4 separate regions of the Homo sapiens genome follow, and regions 2, 3 and 4 are each linked to region 1. Evidence: promoter capture Hi-C in human tissues and cell types (Jung and others, 2019). All regions are on one chromosome and are shown on one strand. The core of a region is centred on a gene start or on the middle of the fragment in contact, and the rest is flanking DNA. Distances in the headings are between cores, read along the strand shown.

Evidence for each region. The method cuts DNA at HindIII sites, captures the fragments that hold promoters and counts their contacts. A contact is called where the count stands out against the background at its distance.
Region 2: the fragment with the promoter of HNRNPC here is called in contact with the fragment with the promoter of ACIN1 in region 1 in 1 of the 25 tissues and cell types used here (pancreas).
Region 3: the fragment with the promoter of SUPT16H here is called in contact with the fragment with the promoter of ACIN1 in region 1 in 1 of the 25 tissues and cell types used here (hippocampus).
Region 4: the fragment with the promoter of CHD8 here is called in contact with the fragment with the promoter of ACIN1 in region 1 in 1 of the 25 tissues and cell types used here (hippocampus).

What each region holds. Positions count from the first base shown.
Region 1 is chr14:23,093,716-23,096,494 of GRCh38, forward strand. ACIN1 (apoptotic chromatin condensation inducer 1) reads right to left here and starts at 1,421. Exons shown (of 19, transcript NM_001386863.1): 1 at 1,260-1,421. The coding sequence starts at 1,397. C14orf119 (chromosome 14 open reading frame 119) reads left to right here and starts at 1,790. Exons shown (of 2, transcript NM_017924.4): 1 at 1,790-1,904. RefSeq lists enhancers at 1,162-1,471, 1,177-1,700, 1,512-1,591, 1,612-1,821, 1,701-2,224. The HindIII fragment of the contact is 4,223 bases long and covers 170-2,779 here.
Region 2 is chr14:21,268,011-21,270,789 of GRCh38, forward strand. HNRNPC (heterogeneous nuclear ribonucleoprotein C) reads right to left here and starts at 1,432. Exons shown (of 9, transcript NM_004500.4): 1 at 1,288-1,432. RefSeq lists enhancers at 911-1,535, 1,173-1,432, 1,536-2,161 and a silencer at 1,523-1,602. The HindIII fragment of the contact is 14,707 bases long and covers 1-2,779 here.
Region 3 is chr14:21,382,628-21,385,406 of GRCh38, forward strand. SUPT16H (SPT16 homolog, facilitates chromatin remodeling subunit) reads right to left here and starts at 1,392. Exons shown (of 26, transcript NM_007192.4): 1 at 1,235-1,392. The coding sequence starts at 1,300. CHD8 (chromodomain helicase DNA binding protein 8) reads right to left here. Exons shown (of 38, transcript NM_001170629.2): 38 at 2,572-2,779. LOC107984643 (a long non-coding RNA gene) reads left to right here and starts at 1,646. Exons shown (of 2, transcript XR_001750627.2): 1 at 1,646-2,086. The HindIII fragment of the contact is 14,834 bases long and covers 1-2,779 here.
Region 4 is chr14:21,454,688-21,457,466 of GRCh38, forward strand. CHD8 (chromodomain helicase DNA binding protein 8) reads right to left here and starts at 1,436. Exons shown (of 38, transcript NM_001170629.2): 1 at 1,345-1,436. LOC124903283 (a long non-coding RNA gene) reads left to right here and starts at 1,710. Exons shown (of 2, transcript XR_007064064.1): 1 at 1,710-1,790. RefSeq lists enhancers at 1,179-1,868, 1,733-2,284, 1,899-1,948, 1,959-2,008, 2,285-2,779. The HindIII fragment of the contact is 24,117 bases long and covers 1-2,779 here.

The DNA of each region.
Region 1 (2,779 bases), core at 171-2,670:
TCAGAAGACCCATAAAGGTAGCCATGGTTACTGTTACTAAATGTACAGATATAAAATGCAGGCACACAGAATCAGTGACCTGGCTATGTCATAATATCAGTAATAGAACCAGTACTAAAATCCCTATTATCTTCTGCACTTTCGCCAAGTGCCCCTTCTAAATCTGATCATGCATGTAAAATTACTTAAAATACTCAAACCAGCCATGGGGCTCCTGGTTTTTGCCTGACGGAATTACTTGGTCAAAGGGTTACCCAGTACCAGGGTCAATTTGTATAATTTCCAGTACTGTGGCACCTAGATTTATCAAATTTATAAAATTTTCAAAGAGGAAGCTACAGAAGAAAATGACCACAGACCCTGTAAACTGTGGTCTAACCTAGTCTATCCACACAAACACACACACACAAACACACACACACAAAACTATCAGCTTCTGTATAAGCAACGGTCTGCCAACTCAACCCTGGAGCCAACCCAGACCTAATCTGCACTACCTGCCACGTATCCTGTTGAACTCTAATTAAAACCAAGACATCCTCATCTTCCCTTCTTTAAACCAAACCTATACACTTGAATCGAGCTACACCTACCTCATGACAATCCCACCTTAATCTACTCAAACCGATTCAAAATCCCCAATATATATCAACCTGCCTCGCCTCTCTCACCAATATTCACCAAACTCTTAACCACCCAAATTGCCACTAGATGCCACTAAATTAGAGACCTCTCTCTCATCAAGTCCCTTCAAATAAAGGTCTCTCTTCATCTCACCTCCTCATCTAATCGAGCAGACATTTTACCCTACCCCAGTCCTATTCGTGCAGATACCGATACCAACCCCATCCACCCCTTCGCGCAACTATACCCCTAACTCCGACCCAGCCCAACTCGCCCCCCTCAGGCCAGCAACGCCGTAGGTTGTAGTGGGATTTAACTCCTTCTGCAGCGCATGCGCCGAAACCACAGATACAAACAAGGAGGGGGTGGGGGAAGGAGGAAGGAGCTTAAGACACTCCTGGAGAGTAGTGCACACCCTCCCATTTGGGCTCGCGCTGCTGCCGTTAAGGCGGGAACCGGCGCGATCTCCATTCCAGCGCGAACCTCATCAACCACCGTGCGCGCGGATCCAGAGGCTCGCGCTGGCGGCCTGAGCGAGCTCGCGCCGAGCCCGGATACTGCGCCTGCGCCGCGGCAGAGGCTCGTCTCTACCGGGTCCGCTCTCCTCCGACACCCCAGCAACGCCGACTCCTCACCCCTTTGAGCCGCTTGACCAGGGCACTCTTCTGCCCGCTCTTGGCTAGGCCTCGCTGCTCCAGTGCGGCCTTCAGGTCGGTCACCCGCAGCGCCTGAAGAGGCTTCCCGTCCAGAGTCACCTCCTCCAGCTCCGCCATCTTGCGTGAGGTACTCGGGTCCGTCCCGACGGCTTCGGGCATCTTCGGTAATTTCCGCCAACGCCCTTCGAACGTACCGAGATGACCCCGCCCACTGCCATACTCTACCCCTCGATTACCACTCAGAACTCCCCGGGTTCCTCCGGATGTCCTCGGATGTTTCCGTCTCCACATCGTTACCAATCAATTCTTTCCATCCGCCCTGCAGCGCCCCTTTTCTCGCCCTGCTTTCAGGCTCGGTTTTCTTCGTCTTGCCGAAGCTTTGAATCGAATATATTCGGAAACCCTCGACCCTGGTATAACCATAATCGGAGATGTTCGTTTATTTCCGGACCTAGAGATGAGGCGCTGGGGCGCTTGGGTGTTTGGGGCGGGTCCGAGGCCGGAAGTGCGTGGGCTGCCGGGCTGGCCCAGCTTAGGGTTTTCAGGAAATTTGGAAGCTGCCGCAGTAGTTGGAGTCTAAGGACTCGTGACAATCTTCGGGTGCCCTTCGAGAGAAAAGGGGAGGTAAGCGGGGTAGAAGTACCTCTATGGGCCGGGTCAGACTCGGTGTTTGCGGATTACCTTAATAGGGCAAGCCCCCCACTCCTTAACGCAAACAGCTTCTGCCCTCTGTCCTCTGAATCATAGCCACTCCCATCTTAGGCTTTTTTTGGGGAGGGGCGGGGGGCTGGTGCGGAATCGGAATAACAAGCTCCGTGGGGGTGCGCAAGAAGCATCGCCGTGTCTTCGGACCCAGACTATGAACTGATCTATGACGCTGAACTTGAGTTTGAGTTTGCCTTGGAAGCCATGTGGCAAGATTCTGGGAAAGTTCTTCCTTGCTCCGCAGAAGAGAGTAAGTTCCCTTGGAGGAACTGCTTCCTGTAGGGCAAGAACTGGAAAATGCAAGCGCCCTGAACTTTTTTGGTACTTGAACTAATATTAATTGTTTAGGGGCTTCTTTCTTTGTCACTACCAATCCTCCAACTTGATGCAGAAGAAACACAAACAGTAAAATAGGTCACAGACAAATAGTTTAGAGATTTAAGAGATACGTTAGAGATTTAAGAGACTGAAAACTATTAAAGTCAAATTGGCTGATCTTTCCGTTGCATTCATGATGCAAAATCAGTGGCAAGGTGCCGGGCGCGGTGGCTTACGCCTATAATCCCAGCACTTTGGGAGGCCGAGGCGGGCGGATCACTTGAGGTCAGGAGTTGGAGACCAGTCTGGCCAATATGGTGAAACCCCGTCTCTACTAAAAATACAAACAAATTAGCCGGGCGTGGTGGCGTACGCCTATAGTCCCAGCTACTCGGGAGGCTGAGGCAGGAGAATCGCTTGAACCCAGGAAGCAGTGGTTGAGATCACGCCATTGCACTACAGCCTGGGTGACAGAG
Region 2 (2,779 bases), core at 182-2,681, 1.8 Mb before region 1:
CAGATGAATTTCTTACCCTGCAGAATGGGTTTAAACTGTGCTTAACAGCTTTAGTTTTTGTGAGATTAACAGATTGTGAAAAATAAACTTAGCCAAATCTCATGTGAGGATTAAAAAAAGCGATGTCCCAGATAAGTCAATGTGACACTAAAGATCTAAACAATTTTTTTTAACTTTTAAGTTTTTTATCAAATTTCAGCACCCAGCAAATAATAGGCACTGTTAATATTTGCTTAATATAACGTAGCTGTGAATTTTTGCCCACATTTAGGCGGACGGGAAAATTAACGCCAGAATATCCCGAAAGTCAAATTTTGTCATCTTACACTTAGGAAGTTACGTTAAAAAATTCTCAAGTCTCGTAGTATTTTTCTTAAGCGCAATTTGGGAATTTCCAGTTACCTCGTGGTTTCCGTCATCAGGTTCTTGGCAAAGATTGCAATACAGTAGTTTTAGAACTATATTAACTAGGTATTCCATTAACTAGGTAAAAACCACTCGACTGACCTCGTGGTCAAATTCCTTACTAGTGCTGCTACTGACTTAATATGACCCTAGCAACCAACACTTTTCTGCCTCAGTTTCCGTCTGAGAAAGAGAGTTAATACCTACCTCAAGCAAAGTTCCACTAACTTATATATTTCAAGTGTTTTGTAACCTGCAGATGAAAAGTCAGCTGTAAATATTAATATAGTTATATCACAATATTTCCTTTTACAAATGTAAGTGAAAATAACTACTTCGAGCTCCATCATTTGCTCATAGAGAGAAATAAAATAAAAAGTTATCAGTAAAATGCTGAATCTTTTGTTAAACCTTTCTCGTAGGCCACGCGGCACGATCCAGGATTTAAAGGCTCGCGATACATCTACTTGGTAACCTTCCCCCTTCCCCTCCCCCACTTTTTACATGTAAGAAGAACGGAGGTAATAGAAGGCATCGGCGCTACGTTAACTTCGACTATATTAATGAGCATCACGATCTTCATTTTCATGATCCCGTAGTCCTCGCGGTCGTAGAAAATGAAAGGAAAGCAGCCGTTAACACAGGAAGAGCGAAAAAAGGACATTTTCCCTGGCGATCGTGGCCTAGAGGACACCAGGTTAAACCTATACAGAGGCTGAGGCCTATAAAACTGCCCCCGGCTTCAACCTAATCCCCCAAAACAAGCAGAATAAATGAGGGCCCGGTTAGTTAGGGGGAAGGATTCCCACATCTTCTCTCCCACACCCCCTCTCGCTTCCCGAAAAACCCAGCGCCTTCCCTGCGTCCGCCCTCTCCACTTACCAAGAAGGGGAGGGAGAAGAGATTCGATTCTGAGTCTCCTACTCCCGGGTTCTGCGTAGAGAAGCCGACTGCTGCTGGAGGTCGGCAACGCGGCCACAACCGCTCAGTCTTCGTCTCTTCACAAAATGGCCCCCGAGTCTCCTCTGCCGCCGAGGCGAAGGCCTAGTCCCCGCCCCATTCCTGAGAATCTTCCTATTGGCTGTGCGTTTTTTCGCTCCCGCTCCTAATTAGACAGTTCAACCGCTCCTCACAATGATATCCAATCACAATTAGCAGTGGGTTAGACTAAGCAGGCGAATTTCCACATGCGTGAGAGAAACTAGTTTATAACTGGTTAGTTTTCCTGTCATTTATTGCCTGGAGAATGCTTATTGGCTATTGCACGGGACGACCCTCTGGGTGGAAACTCGCCTTTGTATCGCGCACCGTCTCACATCCGGGTATCTGGGAGGCCTGATTGGCGGCCGCGGCGTCCTATCGCTGCCCCTTAGAGTGCCTAGTAGAAGATCCGCCCAGACCTCGGATTTCCGGCTGCGCGGGGGCGGGGAAAGGGTTGAGGGGCGTAGTTAGGTGACGGGCGCAAAAGACCTGCCCCAGCCCCGGGCCTAGGGAAAAAAAAGCGCGAAATGAAGCCTCCGTTGTGCAATGTGAATAAAGAAAGGACTTTTCTTAAAATGAGGAGGGAGCAGCAGTGACTAGGCCTTGTTAAAGTGTGTAGAAAACTAACCAGTCCTGCAGTTTTTCCAACCCCAGACCCTTTCTCAGTTCCAGATTCGAATGTCAGCTACCTCGTAGACATCTGCTTCTTGGCCTATTAAACCCTTCTTCAGACAACACATGTTCCATCGAAACCAACTGACTTCCTTATTCCTCTCCAATATAAAAAGGAAGTGCAGAATCCTGGCCTCTGGCCCCAGGGCATCTAATATCTTAAGTGCCAGCAAAATTGGCCCATCCTTCCAAATCTGGTCCCTTAATTTCCCTCCTCTTGAAATGGCTTGTCTCCTACCTACCCCCGTCACCTGCCAGTCTCTCTGGTTACATTATAGGAACTGCGCACGCAGTGGGGTAGCATCAGCTCTACTAAGCCAGCGGTTTCTTTTTTCTTTTCTTTTTTTTTTTTTTTTTTTTTTTTTTTTGAGGCAGAGTCACTGTCGCCCAGGCTGGAGTGCAGTGGCGCGATCTTGGCTCACTGCAACCTCCGCCTCCCGGGTTCAAGCGATTTTCCTGCCTCAGCCTCCTGAGTAGCTGGAACTACAGGTGCGCGCCACCATGTCCAGCTAATTTTTGTATTTTTAGTACAGATGGGGTTTCGCCATGTTGGCCAGACTGTTCAGGTGATCCGCCCGCCTCTGCCTCCCAAAGTGATAAGATTATAGGCGTGAGCCACCACGCCAGACCACTTTAAACTATTTTAAAAAGCAAAGACGAAAAATATGGGAGAAAGTATACACTAAAGTGTTAGTAGTGGTTCTCTCCTGGTGGGAAAATT
Region 3 (2,779 bases), core at 142-2,641, 1.7 Mb before region 1:
CAAGGTTTTAAAATGTTTTTCTAACATCGATTATGTTTGAATAATATGACACTGAGAGAAGCTGCAAAAAATCATTTGGTAGAAATTAATCAAAAAATTAAAAAAAATAAAATGTTCAGTATTCATCTAGCATTTAGTTCTTATTTTTCCTTTTCATAAAATGCAAGAGAATCAATTTTATTTTCAATTATCTAATGTATTTAGCCCCAAAAGATGAAACATGCACAGACAGCTTTAATATGAATGGCAAGGAAACGACCAATTTTAATGGCTTGGTTTTAGTAGATGACCAGTTTGAAAGATAATTTACAATGCTGAAATGAGAGCTGATCATTTTTCTCAAAACGTTTTTCAGGTTAAAAAAAAATCTTTATTAGCTGTATCTTCCCTTGATGACAGGGTTCAGGGGCAAGACTTAAGCTAGCCAACTCAGACTGCATCACAGAATGCAACCAAATGTTTGCTCAATTAGTAAGTTAACATCATAAAAATAAGTTTTAACTGTGGACGTTTTTAGAGCAGCAAAACTGCCGAATCTTTAAAAAACTGGGAACTGCCACAGCTCTTTTAATGAACACGTGCCCCGGATACGCTACCAAGGAACTAATAAGGTTTTAGGCATCGTTTTGTTTTGTTTTGTTATTACTAATGCCTGCAGGCTTTCAGCGTTAGGTCCCTCTCTGTAACCCACAGCAGGGCCTAGAACATGAGGCGGTTGCGCGTGAGCAGTATTTCTTTTTTTAACTCCAGCAAAAGCCCCGCAAACGATAAACGCTAAAAGCCCGATTGACATCCTCCTTGCCCTTCCATCTCTCCTTTACGAAGACGGTTATAATCCTGGCGGGACCAGGGGTGGAATATTGTGGTTCTGGAGGGACAGAGCGAGTGCGTGAGAACACGGCAGGGGAGGGCAGCAAGACGTGACCACGGAGTAGGAGGGAAGGATGTTGCCTCTTCTAGGGCGGGAAGAGACTGCGAGAGGTGCTGCTATGCATGACCAAGGCTGGCACGCGGGGAAGATGGTGATGGCCGCAGGACAGGGTGAATGCGGGGGATTCCCTGTTAAGGGGCAGCGTTCGTGGCCGCCTCCGGTGAATGATTCGGGAGCAACGAAAAGGGTGAGGCACAGAACCCGGGAATTCCTGACCGAAAGAGAAAAAAGGGCGCCGAGAAACAGGGTTATTATGGGATGGCTAAGGGGGCTCCCTAGGAAAAATTACAGGATCTTCCTCACCCGCCAATTGCTGTACAGTCTCTTCACTCGCCGATAATAAGCGTCTTTGTCCAGAGTCACAGCCATAGCCCCGGACGCCGCTTCTCCTCGGGTTCCGAGAATCACGCGAGGTCCCGGCTCAGCCACCCGCTCTCGGCCCAGGAATCCCGCACTCTCCCAATGACCCGGAAGTATCGACCTCAAAGATGCCCTTTCCGCTTCCGGGTCCCAACAGCGTTAGGTTTTTTTTTTGTTTGTTTGTTTGTTTTGTTTTTTTCCAACCCTCTTTCGGATGGACGGGGGAAAGAGAGAAAGAAAAACGAGGGAAAATCAACAAAATGTGCGATGCAAAGAGTCGATTTTCGCGGGGTTTGTCAACTTCGCCACTGCCGCACGCGAATCGACGTCGTCACGTGACGGTCTGCCTCCGCCCTTATTAACTCTCAGCCCAGCGGCGGTTTCCAGGACCTCAGACTTTTTGCCGAGGCGGCAGTCCCTAGACGAAGCGAAGGAGGCGGCGCCTGCCCCGCCCACAAGAGCTGCCGCGCGCGGGTGTTATAGCTCCACCCCATCTGCAAAGGAAGGGGGAGCGGAAAGAGCGGGATCTAGCGTGGGATAAAAGTGGGACTACTACAGTGTAACTGGGCATGCGCCCCTCCTAGAAATGATGGGAATGCAAAAGCCCTTGACTGCTCCAGGACTCGAGGGATCCTCGGTGCCAGGATGCTGGGTCAAGCGCTCCGCCGGGACAGAGGACTCATACCAGGGAAATGGAGCCCAGCCTCGTGATAAACTACGACCCAAGCTGGGGGAGGAACCTAGTTTTCGAAAGGAAAATAATATGCGCAAGCTTTAACTGAGCAGTGGGATGGTGTAAGTCAGAGGAAACAGATGACTTGAGGGGCTCTACAAACTTTTAGTTCCTTCCCACAACCCCACCCCCTGAGCCCAAGTCGCGGCAGCATCCTTCCAGTCGGCCAGTCCCCTTGCTGCAGTTCATGAAAACTGGCACTATTCTATGGCTTCCCCCAAATAACCGTTACTTCAGTTAATTAGAAACAAAACATAAATGGTTCCTGATGACATTCTTGCTCCCTGTCTCTTCTAAAAACTTGGAGTTTGAATCCAGAAGTTTGCCTACCTACCATTTACCTTAAATAATTCCCTTGCCTTTAGCCAGCTGGACAGTCTACATTTGTATATACCCTTTAGAGGAGTACAGATGACTTGTCTGCTGTAAGGCAATTTAGTATAAACAGTATTGAACTTAAGGAAAGTGGTGCTGAAATTACCCACCATTAACAACTCAAAATCAATACACTGGGTTTGAGCAAACATAGAACAAAGGAAGAGTGGAAAAGGATTAACTTAAATTTATTAATGCCAAGGGGAAAGAAGGTAACAGTTCCTGACCCTCCAGCTGTATCCACAGTTCGGCCAGGAACAGGCTCTGCCAGAGGCTAGGGCCAGCGCTACATAGTCTGTGGTTAATGGAGGTGACTAGGGAGGGGTGAGCACACCAGCTGCTCTAGTCTCCTTTCCTTCCCCAGAAATGAGGAAGTGGTC
Region 4 (2,779 bases), core at 186-2,685, 1.6 Mb before region 1:
TCACTTGCCTTCAGATCCACTGACACGCCTCTCTTGCAGCAGAAGGTCTTCTTACATGGAAAATGTTTTTCTTATCATAACTCTTTTTTTAAGGGTTGGGATAATTCCAAAGTACTTGAAATAAGTTTCTCATATCTTGCTCTATGAGGTTGACTAGAATTTGTTCTGAAACCTATTGGATGACCAATACAAAAGAAATTCCTAAGCAGAAGACACGATCTAATTAACTAACACAGGACACGATTCAAATCACAAACTCACTTTCGATATGTAATGTGCCCCACACCAGATGACTTCAGCATATGCTAACCTAGGCTGAGAATCCTTGACTGAGTCGACAAACTCAGAAAAGCATGGAGATGAAACGATCTGTAGACGCCGCTGTGATGGTAGGATGCAGCAGACACTGATAAGGCAGCTCCCCTGGCTTGTGTTTGGGGCGCTCCGCTGTTTATTCTTTAATAGAAAAAGACAGAGTTCTAAATCTTTGACTTCTGGCTCACTTTGCTTAGCCATACGAAAGAGATGGGTCCACTATATACCTTTTCTGTGAAGACCCTAACCGCTTCAAGACTGTCCCTTAAAAAGCAAGAGGCTGCTGCATTTATACAGCTGCTGCAGGGAAATTCCCTGCGACACTAGAGACAGGTAAATAAACTGCATTCGTTCCAAAGCAGGGGGAAGGGTCTTCTATCAGTGACGAGTTTACATAATGCAACGGAAAACCAGTGAGCTCTGCAGACCTGTCAAGGAGGATGCAAGGCTTGAGCTCCTCTCTTCCCACCATCTCTAAACATTCTCCAACAGCCTGCTCTTCACTGCCAGGAGACCCACAGAACTTACACCTGAGAATGAGTAACAATCTGCTTACGCTTACCCCATGCTTTCCTACCCACCTTTATTATTAAAATACAGAAGAAAAAAAAATAAAAAGAAGTAGAAAACCCTAACCACCTATTTCTGAATCCAAAGTATGGAGTAACCAAACGGGGCCGAGGAGTTTTCCCTTCTCTGAAGAGAGGAGAACAAGGCGCCGCCTCCAATCTACACTACGCCCAGTAATGCAATGACAAGCCCTGAAAACTCCACAGCGTCCCAAGCAGTCCCTCGCGGCTCGGCCCGGCTCGGACCCCGCGGCCCGGCAGCCACCCTCTCCCCCGGCCTCTCACAAAGGAGACTGGTTCAGTCCGGAGCATCACCCCGCACCTGATCCCTCACAACTGGGGGGCGAGCAGGGGGTGGAAGAGAGAGGAGAAGGAGTTACTTAAATCAAATCTCTGAGAGCCTCAGCTTTTGCTGACTCCTGGCCCAGCACTGAGGAGCGGGTGCGAGCGGGAAGCCTACCTGTGCAAGTCCTGGTACTTCCTTTCCAGGCAGCGTTTCAACTCACCCTCTCCGAGAACAAGGCGCCTTCCGGCGGAGCATGGCCAGCCCTCGCCTCAATCTAGCTTGCTAGTAGTCCATTCTCCCTAGGCTCCGCCCCCCTGCGCTCCCATCCGCCAATGGCAGCACCGAAGCCCGGCCTCTTCCAGCGAGCTAGTGTGAGCGCCATCCAGGAAGTCTCTTGAGGGTGGAAGGTCCTAGGAGGATGAGAAGGGTACGTAGGCGACCACAAATATGCCTGATTGAAAATAAAATCTGGCGGCGGCTCGCCTCTGACGACTCAGTTCACAGGCGGCCAGGCCCCTCGGCATCTTTTTTTGACCCCCGCCATTGGGGGCGCTGTGAACTAAAACAACACTTAGTTACCTACTTCTGGGAAGCCATCTTGGCTCGGACTCCGGGACTGGGTGAGAGTGCTTAAAGAATGTGAAGACCCTGTCGGTGTTCTGTCCGACTATCTAGGTCCAGCCCGAACATACTCTGCTGTATACACTTAGGAGGCCCCTCAGTCACGACGTGAAACCCTGGAGTAATGCCGTATGTGGTTACGGGCAACAACCACCACCACCCTCTCACTTAACTGTAGGAGTAAAGCAATTTTAACAAATCAAATAAGCAAAAATTAATTCTTCTAATGAGAGTGAAAGTTGCACTTTCCTAGGGTAATCCTTTATGGACACCTCACTCAAAATATCAGGACATGTATCTATTATAGGTGCTACTAAGCTTTAGGATTCACTGCAAATTTTCCAGTAGGGGCACTGTGAATCAGTTGGAAATCAAGAACAGGACTTAAGGAGGAATTCCTTTTTTTTTTTAAAGGCCTAATTTTTTTTTTTTTTTTTGAGATGGAGTCTCGCTCGGTCACCCAGGCTGGAGTGCAGTGGGGCGATCTCGGCTCACTGCAACCTCTGCCTCCCGGGTTCAAGCAATTCTCCTGTCTCAGCTTCCTGAGTAGCTGAGACTACAGGCTCCCGCCACCACGCCCAGCTAATTTTTGTATTTTTAGTAGAGACGGGGTTTCGCCATGTTGGTCAGGCTGGTTTCGAACTCCAGACCTCAAGTGATCCGCCCACCTCGGCCTCCCAAAGTGCTGGGATTACAGACATGAGCCACCATTCCTGGCCAAGAAATCTTTTTTAAAGTTGTGAGTGAGGGAATCCTTCCAGATTATTAAAGGAATTTCTCAAGGAGTAACATAATTGCATGGTCTTACATGATAGGAGCTCAGAGACATCAAGAAGTCATATGAGTGATAAGACTCGGCCTTAAGCTGGGCGCAGTGGCTCACGCCTGTAATCCCAGCACTTTGGGAGGCTGAGGCGGGTGGATCGCCTGAGGTCAGGAGTTCGAGAGCAGCCTGGCCAACATAGTGAAACCCCGTCTCTAGTAAAGA